4 separate regions of the Homo sapiens genome follow, and all the other regions are linked to region 1. The links are contacts of gene promoters, found by promoter capture Hi-C in blood cells and fetal thymus (Javierre and others, 2016). All regions are on one chromosome and are shown on one strand. The core of a region is centred on a gene start or on the middle of the fragment in contact, and the rest is flanking DNA. Distances in the headings are between cores, read along the strand shown.

Region 1 (2,609 bases), core at 1-2,500:
CCCTGTTACCAAGGTGAGTGCAGATAACCAGCAGAGACACCTGTGAACTTGAACCCAGAAGCATACACTCTCCATCTTAAAAACACACACTCCCACCATCCTGGGAGCATGGTAAATCAGCAAAGATGGACGGTGAAAATGTCGCTTTCTCACCTCAGCCTGATATTTACCAACAAGAAGTTAATTTCCCACTGTTCCCAGATCAGTCCACATTGGGGCTAACACTTCTCCACAATGTCCAAGCAAAATCAAAAGAATCCCTGTCTCAGAAGGCATTTGTTGCTGCTGAGTCACAACTGCCTGTCTGATCATAGTCTCCCAAAATGGAGTAAACAAAGGGTTAGTTTGTCCCCTTGTTACACAGTGAAGCCCTTTGCCAAAACTGATTGTTGTATTTTCTGGACAAAATGGAGTAAACAAAGGGTTAGTTTGTAAACAAAGGGTTAGCTTGTCCCCTTGTTATACAGTGAAGCCCTTTGCCAAAATTGATTTTTGTTTTTTCTGAATTTTTGTTTTTGTAGATATTCAGCTCTCCCCAATACCTCTGCCTGCCTTGGCTGCCTGGCCACTTTTTCCAGTGTGATTGTGTATGTTCTTGCCTATTTCTAGCCATTTTCCAGTCCTGGAACATATTAAAAACAAATTGGCCTTTCCATGTAGCTCATAAGTCAGAAAAATTACCAGCAGAAGACATCTCTAGAAAGCGAGACCGTGTACTCTGAGCCCTAACAGCTACTTAGCCAACCACTTCTTCTCTGAGCTATATCAGAGCCACCTATCTCTAGCTGCCTATTTGTTCCAGAAGAATTCAACCCAGGGGAATGGTTTTGCCACCCAGGCATAGGGAAACGAGGGGGCTTTTAAATTCACAGAGATTAGAAGTCCAGACAATGCAGGAAATTCACAGATAATATCCAAAGTAGCCAACCTGCCCTCCAAAATAAAATTCTGATTTGACCCAGTGAGGTAAGCCCAGGTAAGGTGAGCTTCACTTCCTGCCAGCCGTCTCCAAGAGTCTGTTCTAGTTTCATCTGTCCAGTTTAAAGCAGGCTTCTCTTTCCACTCAAGTGTTTGGATTCCAGATTCAAAAGAAGTTTTAAAAATCAGGACTTACCTCATTTACCTAAAGATTCTGGGTGGGAAATCCAATAGCTGTGGCTGTTGGAGGGGAGGCAGCAGGCTGCAATCTCACCAGCTCCTATAGGGATGGGGCACCACGGGTGTTATCAAGTCTGAGCCCTCATCAGAGTGAAGATAAATGCATATAACAATAATTTTAAATCATTTTGTAGGATGTTAAGCAATAAGCCACCAACCGGGAATTCCCTAAGTCACTTCCCCCTCTTCTGATTGGCTACCCAGCCCTTTAAAAAAATAAAATAAAGGATTACAAACACTGGCTCATTTGCATTTGGCCAACTCACACGTTAGTGTTCAAACAAAACAGGTCTAACCAGGTAATGCCTGTGTCTCAAGAACAGAGAGACAACCTGTTAATGGATGAGGAATTGATTTGGTGGTGACTGTTCTTTTCAGCTCAGAGGCTGTTTCAGGTGAAAAGCACCCTGCTCACCAAAGACACCATCGGGAAGAGGGAATGTAAAAGCAAAGTGAGTAGAAGTCCAAATCTGGAGGAGATGATGGTATGGAGGGGCCCTCTTGAGCACCTGTCTCATTTATTAGTCTGTATTTAGTCCACCCTGCTTTGGCATCAAGATCTTTTCCCTAGCTCTATAAGTACCAGGCTCTGAAGGGGCTCCCAGCAAGTTCCCTCTCCAGGCACCATGACTGCCTTCTTGACAGAGACTCTTGGCAATTCAATGGACTTTGAAAAGCCTATCTCCCCTGGCCCCAGGTAAGAGCCTTGAGAGGTTTGAAAGGGAAGGTCCTGGGAGGGAGGGTACCTTATGAGGAGATGCTTAGGTCAAGCAGTCAACTCTCAAATATGCAAGAGCTGATTATCCGGTTGGTGGATTATCTAGGTTCTTCACTTCCTCTTGACACTTACATGATCTTTTTTAAAAGGTTTATTGACACTCCCTATAAGAGTTAGAGATGAGAAGACCAAAATGCTGAAACTGGAAATAAAAAAGCACAGTTTGGACAAGAAGAAGGTGGAATATTAGGGAGGATCTACGGATTCAAATACCCAGGCAACCTCTATTCCCTTGGGCCAAGGGACATATGGGGAGTTACCTGTACCTGCTTCACTGGGTCACAAATGTACCTTCTCCCATACGGGTGAATGACTGCTCCTAGCAAAGAAAAATACCATCCCCCAACCATTAACTTTCTCTGTTGAACCTTCCAGGACACTGGCCTGGCATGAGCAAAGTGTCTAAGCAGATTTCTTTGACTCAACGGGCCTCCCTTTTGTGGGAGAGGGAAGGGAAGTTGAGATTTGGCAGAGATAAAGATTTTGTGATCAAAACCAAGAAGTTACTTGTGTTAAAAAGAAAAAAAAAGGTCTGCTTATGGTCAAAGGCTGACTGAATAGAATAAAAACTGGTTATTATATTAAGGGGGAACAGTGAGTGTGCAGTAGTATTAGTCTTTTCTTACTTATTTTTTCTAGTTTCTACACAAATTCAGAGGTTTCTGAAAGTGTA
Region 2 (2,609 bases), core at 30-2,529, 240 kb before region 1:
CCTCTCCAAGTGACATGATTGGGTTTTCTCACAGATTTCCATTATTGGATTTAAATTTAAACAAAATATTCTGGGCCAGGCATGATGGTGTGTGTCTGTAGTCCTAGCTACTTTGAAGGCTAAGGCAGGAGGATCACTGGAACCCAGGAGTTCAAGGTCACAGTGAGCTATGATTGTACCATTGCACTCCAACTTGGGTGACAGAGCAAGACTCTGTCTATAAACAAACAAACAAATAAATAAATAAACAAAAATGTTCTGACATAAGGTTCACCAAGTGGGGTGGACAGAAATAAATCAGACCATTTGACTTTTGTTCATTCGTTCAGCACATACTTGCTGAGTATGCTGGACTCTGTGCTAAGTGCTCCAAGTGCAGCATAAGCAAACCAGTCAGGTTCCTGCCCTCATAGATCTGGAAGAAGTTAGTAAAATAACCTTAGAAGTAAGTGAAAAAGTAGAAGTGCTACAAGAGAGAACTATGAGGTGCTATGAGAATGTACTATCAAGAAGTTGGACCTGGTTTTGGTGGTATAAATAGTGGACTTAAGGAAGGGATATCTTAAAGTTTAATGGCCAAGAACACAGGAGACATTGGCAATACCTTATATTTGGCAGCCTTACAAAAGTCTTAGCTATGGTCAGCCTCCTCTATTCCTCTTACATTGCTTTATGTTTCCCTCTGGATAGAAAGGGAAAAGTAGAAAGTATCCATATAGGTTTAGGGGACAGGGTTTGGTTAATAAGTAATCCAATAAGAGAACATGATTTGCTAATTTACTAAATTCAAGGACAACTATGTTAACTGCCACTTCCTTTTATTTATTATCATTATTATTATTATTATTATTATTATTTTTATTTTTGAGATGGAGTCTCACTCTGTCGCCCAGGCTGTAGTGCAGTGGCGCCATCTCGGCTCACCGCAAGCTCCGCCTCCCGGGTTCACGCCATTCTCCTGCCTCAGCCTCCCGAGTAGCTGGGACTACAGGCGCCCGCCACCACGTGCCCGACTAATTTTTTGTATTTTTAGTAGAGACGGGATTTCACCGTGTTAGCCAGGATGGTCTTGATCTCCTGAGCTCGTGATCCACCCGCCTCAGCCTCCCAAAGTGCTGGGATTACGGGCGTGAACCACCGCGCCCGGCATTAACTGCCACTTTCTAAATGAAAAACTCTCAGGTAGAACTATCTGAAATTTACTATATTTAACTTTTTGCCTCATAAAAGCAGCAATTTCATCTGGTTCAGGCTAACCATATAGAGACTTCTGATAAAAAAAAAAAAAAAAAAAACCTTAAAGTGCTGATGCTGAAGAACAAGACTGACCTTAAACCATAGAACAAGGGACCATGCCAAAACAGGCTTTTTTTCCTTTATCTTTTTTTTTTCTTTAATACAGGGGTCAGTAAAACTCTGTGGAAACAAAAAGGTGTAGCAGAAAGACCACTAGATGGGTGTCAGGAAACTTTGACTCTAACCCCAGCAAGGCCACTCGCATTTTCTCTGTGATTTTGTGTAAGTTGCTTTCTGTCTCTGAGGCAATAGTTCCTCATCTGTGAAACTATAGGGCTTGACCTATGATATTTAAGGCTCCGTTCTTTCAAGACTCTTCTTGCTCCTTGCTACTGTAAGACAGTAAGACTTAGAGTAACACAGCTCTATAATCCCCAGCTTAGAATACAGCCATTTCTCATTTCCGATCCCTCGCCATATGGACAGGTGCAACCAAATGACAATACGGCCCTTATCTGCCTGTCAATCACATGTGCTAGTCTCCATGTGGACCAAGACAGAGATAGGATTCACCTTGTTGATCAGATGATTTGTGAGCTACTGCTTTATCCAGAGTATGTATTACATGTTGAAATTGTAAACATTCAGTAGGAAATCATTTTGAGGACATTACCCAAAGCATCAGAAGAAGAATTGATCTAACTACAGGCTAAAGCAAATCCAAATAATTACTACTCATTTTGGTTTTTGCCCTTCTTGAACATAGAGATGGTATTGCTCAGCACTTAGAAACTGAATCCAAACAGCTGGGGAGGGAATGCTTTCTGAAGTCCAGTTGGGCTGCCAGCACAGATCATCTCCATTCTGCTGACCAGCAGGACCACGTGCCAGCAGCCAAACCTTTAAGTCTCTCAGCATAAGAGCAAGTGGTAACGCCAGGGGTTTTAAGCCTGCAAAGAGTGATTACCTGAAAGTGAGGTCATGATTCAGGGGTTTGACTGCCAAACACTGCTGACAAAGACACACTCTTTTCCCTGACAGTACAGAATCATATTACTGCACACGCAAGTGTCTCACACCTGGGAAGGATGAAATTACACTGAGCTTAATCCTCCGAAACCAGCCCAACAAGAAGTCACTTAAACATTTAGGATAGGTGTTGTCTCCTGGCAAAGAAAATACTGCAAGGCAACCGGGCAGTTTTTACTAATGAGAAGGGCCTAGACTTGTCAGTTGAAATAATCTTTGACCCTTGATTCCCTTTATTAATTATTCCTTGAGAGGTCTAAACATAGTCTCTCTTAAGTGGGCACTCTGGTCTTTTGCATCCTTATTAACTGAGGAAATCAGCCCTTCAATGAGGTTACATAAGC
Region 3 (2,609 bases), core at 31-2,530, 220 kb before region 1:
ACCATGGCACTATTATCCCTGCTTTATAGACAAGAATACAGAGGCTCAGAGAGTTTCAGCTCCTTGGCTGAAGTCACCAAGCCAGGAAGTAGCAGAGCCCATATTTGAACTCAGGTTTGTGTGAGCATAGAGTTATTTACCCAGGTCTATATAGCTCCACTGTCTTAACAGGCTTGTATGATTTCAGGGGTGCTAGGGGGGTTCCCACCCCAAGAAATGCTGGGAGAATCAACTCGAACACTGATATTAAAATCCCACCCTTAGAAATTCCTGCCCCTGACTGAAACCTGTAAAACTTAATTTTCTAAGCATAGGTTACACTGTTTCTGGGGATGGGGGAGACAGGCCTGGAGTAAGAGGAGAAAGGGAAATCAAGAGGCTGGGACCCAGCACGGAGGCGTGGATAAAGGCCACGGCAACATGAGGCTGGAGGGAATTGAGGACCAACACCCTTCTTCTCCTTCAGGTGTCCCGGCAACTAAAATCTGGGAGCCAATGGGAGGCAAAGCTCCTCAATGGGCTAGACTGACACCAGTGCTGCTTGGGAACCAGGTTTGGGAAGGATGGAAGCAGCAGATGGGCTCAGTCTTACTTAAACCTGAAGTCTCTATGAAGACCTCACTCACCCAAGACGCTGGCTTTCAGCCCCCCAACATCTCAGCAGAACTCCAAGAAGTACAACATTCATTTGGCTTCCAATGAATGCAAGCAAAATGGAGTTTCAGGACCATGGCAAAAAAAGTCTTCTGGTGAAATCAGAACATTCTACATAGAGAACCTGAGAACAGGGGAGGAGGCAGAAGTGGGAGCCAGGCTGAGGCAGGAGAAAAGACAAGAAGAATGTGACTGAAAAATTAATGGAGTGACCAGAAAGGTTTTTGGGGTGTGTGTATGTGCGTGTGTGTGTGTGTGTGTGTGTGTGTGTGTGTGTGTGTGTGTTTCTACCCATTGCAGGAGGAGAATGCATTTATTTGGTGAAAAATGTTTGCTGGGTGTATACTGAAATGCTACACTGGAGCCTATACATACAGAGTATATGGCTGGTATGTTATACCGGCCCTACCTCCTGACCTTTGCATGTTTTGTGTCCTCTGCCTGAAATGCCTTTTACATTATCTACCTGTCTACTCAAATTCACCCTTTAAGACTCAGCTCAGAGATGGTCCTTTCCAGGAAGCTTCCTGTGATTCCTCCTGCTCCCTCTCTTAAATTTCTACCCAAGTATGGATTATGCTGCTGAGTATTCATAAGATCTTTGCCCTTAGTACACTGGCCTGAAGTAATCCATGTCCACGACTGTATTCCTGGCTAAACTGACATTTCTTGAGGATCATGTCTTATCCATCTTTGTATCCCTGGTACCTGGCACTTAGTAGAAGCTTAGTAAATATTCATTGCATTCATTGTGTTGATTCTCCATACCTCCCTCTCCGTACCACTGACTAATTATGGACATTTAATGAGAGGCAACTCACATAGGATAAAGAACATAGTCTGGGCATCAGACCTGAGTTGCAGTCCTGGTCCTACCACTTTCTAGATCTATAGCCTTGGGTAAGTTACTCAACCTCTCTGGTCTTTGGTTTCCTCATTTGTAAAATGGAGCTAAACTCCCCCATCTTGCAGGGCTGTTGTTAGGATTTGATGAGCCGATTTAATCCCTGACACAGTGGATGCCCAGTAATTAGTTGGCATTCCTTTTAGTGATAAGTTGTAAAAGGTTAGGCAAGTGTTGGCAGGGCTAGGCAATTGCCTGGCCTTGATGAGGAGTAAAGTCTACTGCCCTCTAGGGGCTGCATGAGTAACCTGGGCCTCACTAGCATGGTGTGCTCTACTCGCAGGAGTCCTTACTGGTCCGTGAAGGGGAAGTGGGGAATCTGTCCTAGAACACAACCCACCACTACACCACTGCCTCCTTCTGGGGCTGGCATTACACTCAGCCAGGCTAGAGAGGCAGCTTTTGGTAAAAAGAACATCAAAGTGGCAAAGACACAGAGATGGCCTTACATAACAGGAGTGGCTGTAGGAGGTGACCCCTATGCAGTGAACACGTCTGACTGTTCCCTCCTCTCCTGAAACACAGCCATCCTACGGTCTCTCCATCTTCAGCAGGAAAAATGACCACAACACTGAAAACTGGATGAAAAGGAATGGCTGAAGTCAGCTTAAAGGCCAAGGAAGGGAAATGGTCAGGTGAGGGAGAACAAGTAGAATAATTTAGAGGACTCAGGGGCCTATAAGGGTTGTGTGATTAGAAAGCCCCTGCAGAAGAAGGAGGTTCCTTGAGGGACCAAGTGAGGAGAAGGCCTTCAACTGGTGGTTTAGTTAGAATCTGTTCCAGGTGCCATGCCAAAGGTGAGCTCCAAGGGATCACTGTGTTCAGCTTCAGACCAAAGGAAAGAACAGTTCTAGATGTTATGGATTCAATGTTAGTTATCAGTGAAGCATCGTCGGTAATGGGCTGTGCCTTCCTGCCCTTCCCATGTTAAAAGCAAAGTCAAGACATTTGGCAGAGACTGCTGACTATTCTCTGATAACTCCTCTGTCCTTCTTTCTGAGCTATAGGCTTGGAATGCAGATGTGATGTCAGGGGCTGGAGCAGCTATATA
Region 4 (2,609 bases), core at 42-2,541, 160 kb before region 1:
AAGAATTAACATTGTTAAAAATCTCCACACTACCCAAAGCAATCTACAGATCCAATGCAATCCCTATAAAATTTCTAATGACATTTTTTCACAGAAATAGAAAAAAAATCCTAAAATTCATCTAGAACCACAAAAGACCCCAAATAGCCAAAGCAATCTTAAACAAAAAGAACATTGAAGGCATCACATTAACTCATTTCAAAATCTACTGCAAAGCTACAGTAATCAAAGCAGCATAGTACTGGCATAAAAATAGATATGTAGAACAGTGGAACTGAACAGAGAGCCTCAGAATAGATCCATGTGTTTACAATCAATTGATTTTTCCACAAAGATGTCAAGAACACACAATAGGGAAAATACAGTCTTTCCAAAAAATGGTGCTAGAAAAACTGGAGATCCACAAGCAGAAGAATGAAATTAGACCCTATCTCATACCATATGCAAACATTAAATCAAAATGGATTGAGCATTTAAATGTAAGAACTGAAACTATAAAACTACTAGAAGAAAACAGGGGAAAATTTCCTAGACATGGGTCTAGGCAATGGGATTTTATAGTTTTGACCCTCAAAACACAGGCACCAAAAGCAAAAATTGACAAATGGAATTACATCAAACTAAAAAGCTTCTGCACAGTAAAGGAACAATCAACAGACTAAAGAGACAACCCAAGGAACAGAAAAATACACAGATGATCCCAACTTAACAATAGTTCAACTTTATGATGGTGCAAAAGCAATATGCATTCAGCAGAAAGTGTATTTCAGTACAGTATTCAATAAATTGCATGAGATATCAGACACTTTATCATAAAATGGACCGTGTGTTAGATGCTTTTGCTCAACAGTAGGCTAACATAAGTGTTGTGAGCATGTTTAAAATAGGCTAGGCGAAGCTATGATGTTTGGTAGGCTAGGTGTATTAAATGCATTTTTGATTTGACAATATTTTCAACTTACAACAGGTTTATTGGCATGTAACCTCACTGTAAGTCAACAAGCATCTGTATATGCAAACCATGCATCTGATAAGGGATTAATATCCAAAATATATAAGAAACTCAATGCAAGAAAATAAGTAACCCAATTTAAAAATGGACCTATGACCTGGATAAATGTTTCTCAAAAGCAGATATACAAGTAGCCAACAGATATATGAAAAAATGGCTAACATCACTAATCATCAGGGAAAAGCAAATTAAAACCACAATGAGATAACACCTCATGCCTGTTAGAATAGCTATTATAAAAATGACTAAGGATAGCAAGTGTACATGAGGATGTAGAGAAAAGGCAACACTTAAACATTGTTGGTGGGAATGTAATTTACTACAGTCATTATGGAAAACAGTATGGAGGTTTCTCAGAAAATTAAAAATAGAACTAGCCTATGATCCAGCTATACCACTACTGGATATATATCCAAAGGAAAGAAAACCAGTATGTCAAAGAGATATTTGCACTCCCATGTTTATGGCAGCACTAGTCACAATAGCTAAGATATGGAATAAACCTAAGTGTCCATCAACAGATGAATGGAGAAAGAAAAGGTGGCATATACACACAATGGAATATTATTCAGCCATAAAAAGGAAGAAATCTTGTTATTTACAGCAACATTGAGGAACTGGAGGTCATTATGTTAAGTAAAATAAGCCAGGCACAGAAAGACAAATACCACACGATATCACTTATATAGAGAATCTTAAAAAGTTGAACTCACAGAAATAGAGTAAAATGGTAGTTACCATAGGTGGAGATGGCGAGATTTAGGAGATGTTGGTCAAAAGACAAAAAATTTCAGCTAGACAAGAAGAATAACTTTAAGAGTTCTGTTGTATAACAAGGTGACAACAGTTTTTATTTGTCAAATAAAAATGCTAATTTGTCAATTAAATAAAATTTTTAAATGTTTACATCTAAATGTGAAAAGGTAAAACAATAAAGCTTTTGGAAGAAATCGGATGATAATATCTTCATGACTTTCAGGTAAGCAAAGATTTCTTAAACTTGATACAAAATCAGCTAATTACAAAAGAAATAATTTATAAATTAACATGTTAAAATTAATAAAGTAGTTAAACTACTTCAGAAAACTGTTGAGCCATATCTATAAAGTGATCATAAGTATAACATATGACCCATCACTTCCATTCCTAGGTGTACATCCAAAAAAAAATATGTTTTTATGTGCATCAAAAGATATGTACAAGAATAGTCTTTGTAATACTATTCATTATAGCCCCAAACCAGAAACAACCCAAATGTCAATCAATAGTAAAATGGATAAATGCATTTTGGCATATCCACATAGAATTCCATATGAAATTAAAAAGAAAGCCCAATATGAGTGGATCTCACCACATAAATTTGAGTGAAAGAAGAATGAAAATTGTCAGATTCTAAATGGAGTCACTCAAGTCAAACCTGGCAAAATGGAGCCAGGGAAGGCCATCAAGGGAAGGTTCTCATGCATGATTTGCCTAGCAACAACAACTATCACAAGAAATTTTTTCCATACTGCAGCGACTATGTGAGTTGTGCAAGGACAGCTAGCAGCACAAGGACAGCTAGCCACGTACACAGAAACACTTGCCTGACAAATTG

What was found. Contacts are between HindIII fragments. The CHiCAGO score rates a contact against its expected background, and 5 or more counts as called.
Region 2: a contact is called between a fragment that was not itself captured here and the fragment with the promoter of EHF in region 1, in 1 of 17 cell types (endothelial precursors). The highest score is 5.9, in endothelial precursors.
Region 3: a contact is called between a fragment that was not itself captured here and the fragment with the promoter of EHF in region 1, in 6 of 17 cell types (M2 macrophages, M1 macrophages, total CD8 T cells and 3 more). The highest score is 8.4, in M2 macrophages.
Region 4: a fragment that was not itself captured here is called in contact with the fragment with the promoter of EHF in region 1 in 1 of 17 cell types (endothelial precursors); the score reaches 5.0 in endothelial precursors.

The regions. Positions count from the first base shown.
Region 1 is chr11:34,619,734-34,622,342 of GRCh38, reverse strand. It overlaps EHF (ETS homologous factor), which reads right to left and starts at 1,250. Exons shown (of 9, transcript NM_012153.6): 1 at 1,115-1,250. The HindIII fragment of the contact is 6,441 bases long and covers 1-2,609 here.
Region 2 is chr11:34,859,830-34,862,438 of GRCh38, reverse strand. All of the region lies in intron 6 of LOC102723568 (a long non-coding RNA gene), which reads right to left. All of the region lies in intron 1 of LOC105376624 (a long non-coding RNA gene), which reads left to right. Among named protein-coding and RNA genes, the nearest start is that of APIP, 55 kb to the left of the region's middle. The HindIII fragment of the contact is 2,813 bases long and covers 1-2,609 here.
Region 3 is chr11:34,840,148-34,842,756 of GRCh38, reverse strand. The region is part of intron 6 of LOC102723568 (a long non-coding RNA gene); the gene reads right to left. Among named protein-coding and RNA genes, the nearest start is that of APIP, 75 kb to the left of the region's middle. The HindIII fragment of the contact is 202 bases long and covers 1,180-1,381 here.
Region 4 is chr11:34,775,552-34,778,160 of GRCh38, reverse strand. The region is part of intron 6 of LOC102723568 (a long non-coding RNA gene); the gene reads right to left. Among named protein-coding and RNA genes, the nearest start is that of APIP, 140 kb to the left of the region's middle. The HindIII fragment of the contact is 1,321 bases long and covers 631-1,951 here.